Linked DNA regions of Homo sapiens: regions 1, 2 and 3 are each linked to region 4. The links are contacts of gene promoters, found by promoter capture Hi-C in blood cells and fetal thymus (Javierre and others, 2016). All regions are on one chromosome and are shown on one strand. The core of a region is centred on a gene start or on the middle of the fragment in contact, and the rest is flanking DNA. Distances in the headings are between cores, read along the strand shown.

What was found. The method cuts DNA at HindIII sites, captures the fragments that hold promoters and counts their contacts. A CHiCAGO score of 5 or more calls a contact.
Region 1: the fragment with the promoter of PCDHB6 here is called in contact with the fragment with the promoter of PCDHA9 in region 4 in 6 of 17 cell types (neutrophils, monocytes, erythroblasts and 3 more); the score reaches 8.8 in neutrophils.
Region 2: a contact is called between a fragment that was not itself captured here and the fragment with the promoter of PCDHA9 in region 4, in 4 of 17 cell types (monocytes, M1 macrophages, M0 macrophages and 1 more). The highest score is 6.9, in monocytes.
Region 3: a fragment that was not itself captured here is called in contact with the fragment with the promoter of PCDHA9 in region 4 in 4 of 17 cell types (M0 macrophages, M2 macrophages, M1 macrophages and 1 more); the score reaches 7.4 in M0 macrophages.

Annotation. Positions count from the first base shown.
Region 1 is chr5:141,147,742-141,151,466 of GRCh38, forward strand. It overlaps PCDHB6 (protocadherin beta 6), which reads left to right and starts at 2,316. Exons shown (of 1, transcript NM_018939.4): 1 at 2,316-3,725. The coding sequence starts at 2,517. It also overlaps PCDHB@. The HindIII fragment of the contact is 6,099 bases long and covers 1-3,725 here.
Region 2 is chr5:141,204,986-141,208,186 of GRCh38, forward strand. It overlaps PCDHB@. Among named protein-coding and RNA genes, the nearest start is that of PCDHB12, 2.1 kb to the right of the region's middle. The HindIII fragment of the contact is 2,869 bases long and covers 1-2,717 here.
Region 3 is chr5:141,287,414-141,290,830 of GRCh38, forward strand. No RefSeq gene overlaps it. Among named protein-coding and RNA genes, the nearest start is that of SLC25A2, 15 kb to the right of the region's middle. The HindIII fragment of the contact is 1,340 bases long and covers 1,073-2,412 here.
Region 4 is chr5:140,846,490-140,850,079 of GRCh38, forward strand. PCDHA9 (protocadherin alpha 9) reads left to right here and starts at 1,893. Exons shown (of 4, transcript NM_031857.2): 1 at 1,893-3,590. The coding sequence starts at 2,007. All of the region lies in intron 1 of PCDHA1 (protocadherin alpha 1), which reads left to right. All of the region lies in intron 1 of PCDHA2 (protocadherin alpha 2), which reads left to right. All of the region lies in intron 1 of PCDHA3 (protocadherin alpha 3), which reads left to right. It also overlaps PCDHA4, PCDHA5, PCDHA6, PCDHA7, PCDHA8 and PCDHA@. The HindIII fragment of the contact is 21,410 bases long and covers 1,175-3,590 here.

The DNA of each region.
Region 1 (3,725 bases), core at 1,066-3,565, 300 kb after region 4:
AAAGAATATGGGGCATGGTGCTTTTTCACATTGTCTACTTTTCCATCATGTGTCCAGATGAGACCAAGGTTTTGCTCCCCAGTTAACAAAACTGAGCTTCAAAATATGATTAAGATGATTTCCAGTGAATGATGAAAATGTTCCGTATCTTGAAAAAAGTGTGAGTTACACACATGAATCCATTTGTTAAAATGGTACAGTTAAGATTGGTGCATTTCAATTTCTGTAAACATTGCCTTAAGAAAAGAACTATACAAAAGTAATCATTAAGCGGGAAGCAGAGAATGGAGAGAAAGGTATAGACAAAACAAGACAACAGAATGTTGTGAAACTGATTGTGTACAGAGGCTTATTCTGTTTACTTTGTATATGTTAGAATTTTTCCATAATAAAAATTTTAAGTTAATGAGTCCTTGTGAGAACATGTTTACGAATGCAAACTTAATTCAACTCTACTCTAGTCAATCAAATCAAAGCAAAAGAGGGCAACACAGAGAAACATTCTCCTGAAACAATCTAACGTAATCCATTTTCTATAAAAAGGCAGTTTCTTGATAGACCCAACTGATATCTTTTTGGGGTACTTTGAGCTATTATCCTCTTTCTATATAACTACCAATGTTATCAAAGACATTTCAAGGATCTAAATGGAGTTTGACAAATACTGTACTGCTGATAAATTTGCTCTGACGTAAAAAAATAATTCAACAACCTATATTCGAGGATGCCTGGTGGTGCTTCAGAGAAACAGAGTGAATAAAAGACTTTGTGGATGCCGTTAAGCTGGAATCAGAACTCAGAATGCTCACCGAAAGAAGGAAGCATTTAAGATTGAGCAGGAAATAATGGCCTTGTTTCAGCAAAGAGATGACACCAGTCCAATATGTTTATTATTGTTGGTTTATTTCATAATTTCATTTTGTTACATTCTCAAGGAACAGTGTGTTCCCAGTAGCATCTATCAAGTGAACCCTGGAGGCTGGTCACATTCATAATCTTTTGTTTTTCTGGCTACATAGAGGTGATTTTGAACTACAAGATCATCTCAGCTATTCAGAGTTTAGATTTTATTTAGCCTTATTTGTTTTGCCTAGCATTTATGTATTTGAAAATATCTTGATTTTTAATCTTCTATCACCTTGGCCCTTACCTGAAGTGAACTTTGTTTGAACTCAATTGATTTCACCTCTCAATAAATATGAAATTAATCTGAAATGAATTGAATTGTTTGGCATATTTTACCTCTTCTATGTGCACTAATCTATTTCACACATTTTCAGTTTGTTTAGAGATACATGTTCCAATGTATCTGAGTAGAAACTAGTGAGATGGGAATGGATATAGCCATAATATTCCATCATTGAATTCCATGGCATTCACTCAAATGTAACTCACCTGTTTTAACAGTACCTTAATTTGGCCTGTATTTATTGGACTTGGTGTTCTTTTTGCTGTGAGAAGACGGTGAAGGTGATTCTTGAATGTTTGTTTTCTGTGTTGCATCATGTTTGTACAACACGGTAATATATTTGGACCTTGATTAAATAATGTAAGAGGGGAATTTGATCAAAAAATAAAATGCACAAGACTGTTAAAACAATGTCTAATTCTATCCATGCAAAAATGGAGTAGAATCCTAAAATGCTTATGACAACTACTTGATTGCTTCTAGTCCCTCTTTTAAATACTTTAATTTACTTAGATACATGTATCATACGTACTTCTTGGCCTCAGTTTTCCTCCTAATAGCCTAATTGTTCTTTTTACTGTGCAGGCATAACTATATAACAAAGTAGGTTTTTTTTTTCATGCCATTTATGAGTCATATAATTTAGATAATTTATTGTTTATTTTACCATTATTGTTGCTAACAAACTTCGTTGTTTTGCATTGTTTGTTGGGACAATTAAATAGTGTACCTCTTGGACTAATAGATTAAATAGTTCATCAGAGATAAATTGCACTGCTGAAGCATCAAAGGAGAAAGACTGAAGTGTAGAATCTGCACTTCAATCTTTCTCCTTAATTAGCACCACCAGGGAATTTGATTCAAGTTCTAGAGGGGAGTGAACCCAGGAATTGGCTTAAAAACAAAAACATACACACAAAAAAACCAACGCTCGCAAGCAATTATTTATGCATGCGGTCCACGCACTCAGTTTGAGAAACACTGACTCGACTTAAAAGTCTTTATAATGCTCAGATTTCTGAAATGCTATTGACCTGAAAACATCTCATGAAGTTATTAGTTTGAACGCGTGGTGGCGGTACAAGCTAAGAGAGTGAATGAAAGCTCTGCAGACTCGGTGGACTCCGTTTCATCCAGAAGCCAAGTAAAAATACAGACCACGTTTACAGCTAAAGCTGAGATAGATGTGTCCGGGAAGGCAGTCGTCGCCAGACAAGTTGTAAGAACGAATTTAAAAATCTCTGCAAAGACATCCGAGAGGGTCGACGGTAGATGTGGTGATTGGGAGCTGAAAAGGATTTTTCTTCCGTATTCAGACATAATAGACATGATGCAAACTAAAGTACAGAACAAGAAAAGGCAAGTGGCTTTCTTCATTTTATTGATGCTTTGGGGAGAGGTGGGTTCTGAATCGATTCAGTATTCCGTATTGGAGGAGACAGAAAGTGGCACGTTTGTGGCCAACTTGACAAAGGACCTGGGACTGAGGGTGGGGGAGCTGGCTTCGCGGGGCGCTCGGGTTGTTTTCAAAGGGAACAGACAACATTTGCAGTTTGATCCACAGACCCATGATTTACTGCTAAATGAAAAACTGGACCGGGAGGAGCTGTGTGGCTCCACTGAGCCGTGTGTGCTACCTTTCCAAGTGTTACTGGAAAACCCCTTGCAGTTTTTTCAGGCTTCCTTGCGAGTCAGAGATATAAATGACCACGCCCCGGAATTCCCTGCCAGAGAAATGCTCCTGAAAATATCAGAAATTACTATGCCAGGAAAGATATTTCCTTTGAAAATGGCACACGATTTAGACACCGGCAGCAACGGCCTTCAGAGGTACACAATCAGCTCCAACCCTCACTTCCACGTTCTCACCCGCAATCGCAGCGAAGGCAGGAAGTTCCCGGAGCTGGTGCTAGACAAACCGTTGGACCGCGAGGAGCAGCCCCAACTCAGGCTAACGCTGATCGCGCTGGATGGCGGGTCTCCGCCCCGGTCAGGGACCTCCGAGATTCAGATCCAGGTTTTGGACATCAATGACAACGTCCCCGAGTTTGCTCAGGAGCTCTATGAAGCACAAGTCCCTGAGAACAACCCCCTCGGCTCTCTGGTTATTACCGTCTCAGCCAGAGATTTAGATGCAGGATCGTTTGGGAAGGTATCTTACGCCCTGTTTCAAGTCGATGACGTCAACCAACCCTTCGAAATAAACGCAATCACAGGAGAAATTCGGCTGAGAAAGGCTTTGGATTTTGAGGAAATTCAGTCTTATGACGTGGATGTTGAGGCTACAGATGGTGGAGGCCTATCAGGAAAATGCTCTTTAGTCGTCAGGGTCCTGGACGTGAATGACAATGCCCCTGAACTCACCATGTCGTTCTTCATCAGCCTCATCCCAGAAAACTTACCAGAGATCACAGTGGCAGTTTTCAGTGTTTCAGATGCAGACTCTGGACATAACCAACAGGTTATTTGTTCAATAGAGAACAATCTCCCCTTTCTACTAAGACCTTCCGTGGAGAATTTCTACACCCTGGTAACA
Region 2 (3,201 bases), core at 33-2,532, 360 kb after region 4:
TCAAAATATTCAAATATATCAGATACCTGTCAATTATGTTTATTTCTTGGTGATCTTGCACCCAGATCTCTACTTCATTCATACTGGTTGCTCTATAGGCTGTCACCCTAGGACTTTAAAAAATATTTTTCTTTGTTGGTCCTTTTTTATAAGATCCAGTACATTCTTCTTTCTTAGTTTACTCACTTATTTTGTTGATGCACATCTCTCAGTACCTTCATAAAAATGGATACAGAGGAAATAAAACTTTTTGAGAGCTTGCTTTGTTATTTTCTTTTTTTTTATTTGATTGATAGTTTGGGCATAACATTCTAGGTTGAAAATAATTTTCCCTCAGATTTCAAAAGCACTGCTCCTTTTATTGACTGCATATAGAATTGCTGTTCAGAAGACTGATTCCATTCTGATTCCTATGTCTTTTTATGTGATTCCCCCCCTTTTTTTCTTTCTTTCTGTGAGCATTGAAAAAAATTCCCCTGGTCTTCTGAAAATACCTTAGTACTGGCTCTTTATTGATTAATCTGGTTATATCGCTATGCCCTGTTCATGTTTAACTTTTCTTTTTTTTTTAAGATGATGTCTCACTGTGTTACCCAGGCTGGAGTGCAGTGGCTATTCACAGGCACAATCACAGCACCCTGCAAGCTCTAACTCGAGAGCTACTTCTGCCTCAGCCTTCCAAGTTGCTGGGACTACAGGCATGTGCTAGACCCCTTGGCTAATGTTCAGACTATCAATTTTATTTCTGAGAAATTTTGGTTGGGCATGGTGACTCACACCTGCAATCCCAGTACTTTGGGAAGCTGAGGCAGGATTATTTGAGGCCCCGAGTTTGAGACCACCCTGGGCAACATAGTGGGAACCTATCTCTACACAAAAACAATTTGTTAAAAGGAATTTCCTTGGTATGTTTTACTCATAATTTCTCCTCTGAGTTTTCTGGATTCTCACTTCAATGAAAATCTCAGTTAAATATTAGACCTCCTAGATTGACTCTATAAGACTATAAGCCATTTTTCCTTTCTTATTTTCTCTTTGCCTCTCATTCCATTTTTTGGACAATTTATTTAATCACTCAATGTTTTATGTATAAGTTTTTCTTTATGACTGAAAAATATTTACTTTTAAGAGTTGTTTTTGGTTCTCTGAATGTTTTTCATGGCATCCTGTCATAGATTTATAAATGTAATATTTTCTCTCATTTATAATTAATCTTTTCTTTAAAAATGCATTAGGCAGTATCATTATTATATATCCATTTTAAAAGTGAAAGTGAGTCTAAGGGGAGTTAAGAACTTGTCCAAGGTAATATAGCTAGTAAAAAGCACTGAAGTCCTAATCTAGTCTTCATCTTACAATAGGAATATGTACTTCATATAGTTACTATTTAGATTAAGTGGATAAATACATACTTCATACAGCTACTATTTAGATTAAATGGATAAATGCATTATGAGGCACTTAGAACAATGAGTAGCATAGAGTAAATACTAAATAAGTATTAGCTTTTATTAGATTTTCTTTCTCTGGGAATATTAACCAGACATTTTCAAAGGCTTTCTTCTGCTTTCTATATTATTGTTCCTTTTTTTTTTCTTGATGGTAGCGATGGTGGTAGTTTTGGTCTTTCTATGTTATGTTGCAGGCATTTCCTCAAATGCCTTGGCTATCTTCTCGTATTTTAGAAGGATGATATATCAAAATGCTGACAATCAACTCTGTGAGCGAACAGTACCTGTTGATGGCAGGGCTTCATTCTAATATAACCATGCTAGGATAAGTCTATTACCTTATGAGATGCCAAATATTAATATGTGTCTTCATTTGGGCTTTCATATTCTCCAGGTTAGAATTCTACAATATACACTATGGGGATAGACTAGGGGTCAGGCATACACTTTGTGTCCTACAGTCTAAGAGTATTGCATGAAAAGGGATTAGAAGTCTCACCATGCAAAATGCAAAGGTTTGCTTACTCTCCCTATTTTCAGTTTGACACCTCACACTTGTGCTCAGCTGTGCCTAGATCCCCAAGACTAGAGAAAGTCCCATTAAATTTCTCCAGAGAATAAACTTTCTATTTTCTGGCTGTGAGTTATGTTTCCATCTATGTAGGGTGATGAGAAGAACAGAGAATTCAATTATCCTCTACACATACTTCCAACTAATAACTTTTTTCCATCCTTAACTGACTTCAGTCTTCTTAAACATCTGGTTCCTCCAGATCTTGCGCTTAAAAGAGATTATGTTTCTTGTGAGTATCTTCAATGCAGGAACTTTACTTTAGGGGCACTTTTTGGAACTGCTAAGTTAATTGCTCTTCCACCTGCTTTCTGTCATAGAAAAATGTATGTGTTCACTTGTGTATTCTTAATCTTTGTTAGTTCCTACCATTTTAATTACTTTTCTGCCATTTTAGTGCATATTTTTTTTTAAAAAGAGAGGTTAATTGTGTGTGCTCAATTCATCTACTTTTCAAGTTTTACCCTTCTGTACCAATTACTATTTCAACCATGTATCCAGCTTACATTTTTAAGAATATTAATTGAATTTAACATTTTAAAATGCAGACTTGTTGGATTCTTCTCCCATCCATTCTTAGTGCACTTTAAGACTTTCTATAGTGAATATCACTGATGAGCCCTTAGCATCTGTTGCAAACAGTCTCCCTCATTTTGTACCAATGAGGTACTTTGGCTAGGACTGAAACCTTCCCAAGCTTAAGAGGTGGTCCCAGACAGGATTAAAACACAGTAATGGCCAGAGACAGGTCTTTAGATTCTAGGACTAAAATCTCCAACTATAATTCTATACCTCTTGAAACAATGATTGCTTCAGTGGCAGACACATGATCTTACTTGGTCTAATTAGAGTGAAAGTTAGGTTTTTGTTCTATGTTTAGGGATAGACTCTTACTTTCTCTTCCTGGGCTGAAAGAGAAAACAGATAGCTACAGTTGTGGCTACAATAAATTTTGGGAACCTAAGGCAAGTCAGCTTTAGGAATAAGAGTCTGCTTTAAATTAAACTAACTTGCTCATGCTTGTGTACTTATGAATTTTTTTGTAAATTATGAAAAACTGGAACTAAATGATGGGTTTACATAACATGTTCCACCCCAATCTCTTGCTTCATTTTCTGCCTGTTCACAATTCATTGCTATTAAGGAAATCTACAGAAGTGCCTTTTTATGCTGTTGTGT
Region 3 (3,417 bases), core at 493-2,992, 440 kb after region 4:
AGAAAAGAGCCAACACAGTAGGTCTAATACTGTGATCCTTAGAAAGCTCTTCTTGTAAGGTTGGCTTTTGGCTGGCATCTGGGAACTGGGACTTTGAGAGTGTTCTCACCATCCCTTCTTACTGACTTTTTGGAATCCTGAATTCACATATCTTAATTGCCTGGACCTGACTCTAAGCTAAAATCTGACTATCTTCTGATGGACCATTTCAGTCTCAGAATGAGCTGTGCTAAACTGAAAGCAGGCATAGTCTCAATAAACAGAACATAGATTCTGCAACTGTTGCAGATTTAAGATACCTCTTTGTGGGGCCTTAATGAAAACGTCATAAATACTGGCTGGACCATCTATGGTGGTCAGATGCCCATGGGAAAGGGGTTATTCTCTGATGGAGCCATCTAAAATTGAGGTGCTGATTGGCTCTATATTTCTGATACAGAGAGATATACAGAGACTGGTTGCATTCCTAATTGCACTTTAGGACTGGGCACATCACAGTGACTGTAACCCCTCTCCCCATTCCTGACAGATCAGACTCTGGACCTCCTCTGGAGAAAGTCCCACTGCTGTAGATTTGTGTTTAGATTTCTGGATTGGTTGCAACTTGCAACAATTGACTTACAGCCTGAATCTACTTCCTTCACCTTTTTACTGGAATATTAAGACAATTTGATTGTTAAATGCAGCTGTCCCCAAAAAGGAACTGCTCTTCTCTGGGATGGTAGGCTGGCCACTGGATAAATGATTGTGACTAAAGGGATAAGAGTCTGTGTAAACTTAATTTGAAAAATCTTAGAAAATTCAGGTCATTGTGACCAATTCCTTACCATGATGTGTCTTTCTGCTTAAGTTGTGTAAAAATGTTTTTCTGTGAAAATGCTTTTTTCCCTCTTGCTTATAACCCTTCTGGATGAAAGGCCCTAGTGAGTAGGAGATGATTGAAAATATAAAGTTATAATTGTGAATGGGACACACTGATTTTGTAACAATGGAGAAACCACACCCAGCCCCTGGGAGGCACAGGGAGAGGTTAGGGTGTTAATGATTTTTGTTTTTCAGAACTGCTCCTGGAAGCTTTACCCCCTTCTTGAAGGAGAAGTCCCCATGCTGGCTTTCCAAGCTGCTGCGAGCACTCTGAATTCAAACAGATTGCTGAGCCCATGGTCACAGGTGACTATGAGACGGCAGAGGAACACTTCCAGATGTCACCCACACTTATGAGATGGATGAAGTGATATTATGCATGAACAAAACTGTTTGGAACTGACTGCCTCAGGCAGTCGTTATGAATCTAAGGACTGACCTGTGTTATTTGGACTGCACTGAGAATCCTGGAGCAGGAGGGCCCACAGTGGAAGGTTACATTAGAGGTCTTCTTAACCTTATTGCCTGACTACTGTATGTCCTGCTTGGGGTGTCCTAACAACTGTAAACTCATTGTTTCCAGGGGTACTGTGTGTGCCCTCTGGGCTTATATTTCTTTTGTGGGTACCCTGACTATCATGACACTGTCTCAGCCCTACAAGGCATTCGGATTAACTTTAACTTACTGGTCAGAGATGTGCTGTGCCTGAGTTGATGCCTTGGGCCAGATTAAAAGAAAAAAAAAGGTTAATATAAAAACTAAAGGAGAAAGACACCTGGCTTTCTAAGATAGACCTTTATGGTTAATGGGATTTTTTGTTTTGTTTTGTTTTTTGAGACAGAGTTTCACTCTTGTTGCCCAGGCTGGAGTGCAATGGCACAATCTTGGCTCACTGCAACCTCTGCCTCCTGGGTTCAAGCAATTCTCCTGCCTCAGCCTCCCGAGTAGCCGGGATTACAGGCATGTGCCACCACACCCGGCTAATTTTTTGTATTTAGTAGAGACGGGGTTTCACCATGTTGGTCAGGCTAGTCTTGAACTCCTGACCTCAGGTGATCCACTCACCTTGGCCTCCCAAAGTGCTGGGATTACAGGCGTGAACCACTGTGCCTGTTCCCAGGATTTGTTTTAATTGGCCAAATCTAGAAGCCATGGAGGACATAACTGAGGCCAATAATGTAGGCTGATCTCACCCTGCCATGTGGGATCCTATTGATAATAATCTTTTTGTAAAAAATGCCTTGGACAATGACCAAGTGGGTAGAAGAAAAGAGTTAATATAACAGACCTGAGACTACTAAGCCGTCGAAGGCCCTGCTTACAAGGTAGGCCCTTGGCTTGCATTTGGGACTTGGATTCTGAGATTGTCTGCATCATTTCATAACTGATAAAAGTGGTTTGCTGTGCCTAAACTGTATATACAAACAACGTGGCTTATGCTGAACACCTGCTTTCCTTCGGGGAATCTGGGATTTTGCTACCTACTAGGCAGAAGAGGCCCACATGACCAGTCCCCAATAAAAACCCTGGATTCCTAGGTTTAGGCAAGCTTGCCTGGTAGATAACACTTTACACCTGTTGGTGCAATTTGATGCTGGAGGATTTAATCATATTCTGTGTGACTCCAATGGGAGAGGATTCTTGGAAGTTTATACCTAGTTTCCTCCAGACTTTATCTGATATACCTTTTCCCCTAGCTGAGTTTGCCTTGTATCCCTTTACTGTAACAAATCATAGCCACGAGTATGACTACATGCTGAGTTTTGTGAGTCTTAGAAAATTACCAAACCTGGGGTCTTGGGACCCTCTGACGCCAAACCTTTGTATTTATTCTCTGACAAATAAGAGAGTAAGACACATTATAGTGGAAACCCTGAAATGTCCCTTTCCCTAGCCAAGATAGTAAATCATAAGTAATGCTGCATCCTAGGAGGATTTTTAGAGATTAACACTACCTCCTGAGGCTTAAAGTGCACAGAGGTGATAGTCCTCATCAAATTCTCATTTAATTCATTTGTTCACCCTCTGCAAAAACTAGATAGATTGTTGTGATGACAATGGACTGCAATATACTTACTTAACCAAATGGTAGCTCCAATTGCAGCTGTCATGCCAGATGTGGTATCTTTATTGGAGTAGATCAGTATAACTTTGGCAACTTGGTAGGTGGCTATTTTTCTGGTGAACGCACTTGTCTTAAATTCCACCAGGGAATAAAATCAAAAGCAGTCATCTTCTCATGATAAGAAAACAGAACACATTCAACTATCTTATTACAAAGCTATGTTAACTCTCTTGCTTTCTTTCATAATGTACTCCACAAATATTTCAACATTGAACATTCTATAGAACATAATGCTAGATCACTGCATAGATGACATGATTCTAATTGGACCCAGTGAGTAGTGAGTAGTAAGTAACAAGGACCCTAGATGGTCTAGCATGTCAAAGAGTAAAATATTAACCCTATGAATATTCAGGTGACTGTCATATCAGTAATGATTCTAGGGTTCTTGGGCATGCAAAGAAATGCCCTCTGAGATAAAATATAA
Region 4 (3,590 bases), core at 643-3,142:
TCAGCCTCCCAAGTAGCTGGGATTACAGGTGCATGCCACCATGCCCTGCTAATTTTTTGTATTTTTAGTAGAGTCGGGGTTTCACCATGTTAGCCAGGATGGTCTCGATCTCCTGACCTCCTGATCCGCCCACTTCGGCCTCCTAAAGTGCTGGGATTACAGGCATGAGCCACCGCGCCCAGCCTAAAATGCTTTCTTAGCAAGTAGAGAAGATTGTAATAACCAGTCTTCATTAAACATTAAATAGGACCCTTACAGATCTCTAACAGCATATCATCATGTCAGGAATTATTACTGAGCCCCAGCCCCTGGCTTTAAAATTTGAGGTCAAATAAAGAATATGAGTCACACAATGCAAGGCAAGATAATGTAACAGGTACAAGAGGTAAATCAGAATGACGTTGAAGTTGAAAGACAATCATTTCCTATTTGAATTTTTGAAGAAATACTTGAAGGGGCATGGTGTGTTTCAGTGGTTTTAAAATAAGTAAGTTCCCCCCGGGAGAATATTGAGAATGATAGACATTTCTTGGAAAGAGAAAACATAAGGAAAGTTGAAGACACAGAAAGCATCAATATGACAAGTAGAAAAGTCCACTTTGGTTAAAACACACAGTCTGCAGAGAATGAAAGCAGGAAAACCAATGTAAGAAGATCTCTTGATTTCTGAGTAATAAACTAAAGGGCCATGAGTGATTAAGGAATTTGGCCACTCTTTAGAATTAATTGGGAGCTATTTAACTACCTTGAGCAAAATAAATCACGACTTTTGAAAGAAGGTTGAACGGGAAGACAAACTCAGAAGCTCCTGCAGTAATCAAGGACAGAAGCAATTGTTAAATGCACCTCTTAGGCTGTTATCAGTAGAAATACGAAATAAAAGATAAATATGCAAAAACATTAATGGCACAATAAACACTCACGGTTTTGCCTTTAGACTTGAGATACACTAAAATCTAGATTTAATTAATCGACTTGGACGTTGGAATAAGATAGTAAAACTCACAACAAAACTTTGTAGAACTTAGTCAGGAAAAGAATCTCAAGCATAGCTTTAAAAACAGAAATTGCCCCGAGTACTAAGGATGAGCAATAATGAAATTAAAACATATTGTAATAACATTACACAAACTATATTGGAGACTACAAAGAAGAGATTATTCATAGATTATAAAGCTTGGAAAGAATCAAAACAACACATTTCTGGAAACAGATTGTATAAATGCTACAAAAGAGAAAAATATATTTTCTCCCCACGCAACACAAGACCTTAAAGTCAATTCTCGCTTTTCTTGCAATATTTTATACCTTTTCAATTCATAGAATTACTCAAGAAAACTACCTCAGTTGGTTGCTACTTTTTGTTGATTCCTTTTACCAGACATGACTAAGTTTCTTTTTCATCAGTAGATTTCTGGGCTCCTATATTCACTAGAGATTGCAACTCCTGGATTTCTCTTACACTAGAATCCTATTTCGAGCCATATGGGAGATTCTGAATTCCAGAACAAAAGAATTTTGTAATTTAAAATTCGTGATTGCTCAATGGAATCATTTTAATTGTTACTTCATTTCTGTCGTTATTTAAAACTTAAGTGGAGAGTTTTCTCAGGGATAAGAAAACCACAATCAAGGTCATACAAAACTTTTAGAGGCAGTCAGTCTGCTAAGAAGGCTCCAGCAAGAGAAACGGGATCTTCTGTTTCAACAATCATTACTTAAGAAAAAATTAAGAAAATGAAATAAGTTTTGCAGAATAACTGTGAAATTTTTATTCATGAAATATGTACTTACACTTTGGGCCACGTGATGTCACTCTTTGCCGCGATGTTCTCTCTGAATCCAGACAAATACAGCCCTTTTCCCATGGGAAAGAGGCTCAATTCTTTTTCACTCTCTCTGTGCTGAACGATGGCGAACACAGCAGAATGGGACTGACGAAATCAGATGATTTCTTCTAATTTGGAGGCAATTTTCACTAATTAGAAGAAGACTGAGTATTTGAAATGTTATACTCAAGTCGAGGAGATCCAGAGGGTCAGCCTCTACTGCTCTCGCTTCTGATCCTCGCAATGTGGGTGGTGGGGAGCGGCCAGCTCCACTACTCCGTCCCGGAGGAAGCCGAACACGGCACCTTCGTGGGCCGCATCGCGCAGGACCTGGGGCTGGAGCTGGCGGAGCTGGTGCCGCGCCTGTTCCAGTTGGATTCCAAAGGCCGCGGGGACCTTCTGGAGGTAAATCTGCAGAATGGCATTTTGTTTGTGAATTCTCGGATCGACCGCGAGGAGCTGTGCGGGCGGAGCGCGGAGTGCAGCATCCACCTGGAGGTGATCGTAGACAGGCCGCTGCAGGTTTTCCATGTGGACGTGGAGGTGAAGGACATTAACGACAACCCTCCAGTGTTCCCAGCGACACAAAAGAATCTGTTCATCGCGGAATCCAGGCCGCTTGACTCTCGGTTTCCACTAGAGGGCGCGTCCGATGCAGATATCGGGGAGAACGCCCTGCTCACTTACAGACTGAGCCCCAATGAGTATTTCTTCCTGGACGTGCCAACCAGCAACCAGCAGGTAAAACCTCTTGGACTTGTATTACGGAAACTTTTAGACAGAGAAGAAACTCCGGAGCTTCATTTATTGCTCACGGCCACCGATGGAGGCAAACCCGAGCTGACTGGCACCGTTCAATTACTCATCACGGTACTGGACAACAATGACAATGCCCCAGTGTTCGACAGAACCCTGTATACGGTGAAATTACCAGAAAACGTTTCTATCGGAACGCTGGTGATTCACCCCAATGCCTCAGATTTAGACGAAGGCTTGAATGGGGATATTATTTACTCCTTCTCCAGTGATGTTTCTCCAGATATAAAATCCAAGTTCCACATGGACCCCTTAAGTGGGGCAATCACAGTGATAGGACATATGGATTTTGAAGAAAGTAGAGCACACAAGATCCCAGTCGAGGCTGTCGATAAAGGCTTCCCACCCCTGGCTGGTCATTGTACACTTCTTGTGGAAGTTGTGGATGTAAATGACAATGCTCCACAGTTGACTATCAAAACGCTCTCGGTTCCTGTAAAAGAGGACGCACAACTGGGGACAGTTATTGCCCTGATTAGTGTGATCGACCTAGACGCAGATGCCAACGGGCAGGTTACCTGCTCCCTGACGCCCCACGTCCCCTTCAAGCTGGTGTCCACCTACAAGAATTACTACTCGTTGGTGCTGGACAGAGCTCTGGACCGCGAGAGTGTGTCCGCCTACGAGCTGGTGGTTACCGCGCGGGACGGGGGCTCGCCTTCACTGTGGGCCACGGCCAGGGTGTCTGTGGAGGTGGCCGACGTGAACGACAACGCACCAGCGTTCGCGCAGTCCGAGTACACGGTGTTCGTGAAGGAGAACAACCCGCCGGGCTGCCACATCTTCACGGTGTCTGCGCGGGACGCTGACGCGCAGGAGAACGCCCTGGTGTCCTACTCGCTGGTGGAGCGGCGGTTGGGCGAGCGCTCGCTGTCGAGCTACGTGTCAGTGCACGCGGAGAGCGGCAAGGTGTACGCGCTGCAGCCGTTGGACCACGAGGAGCTG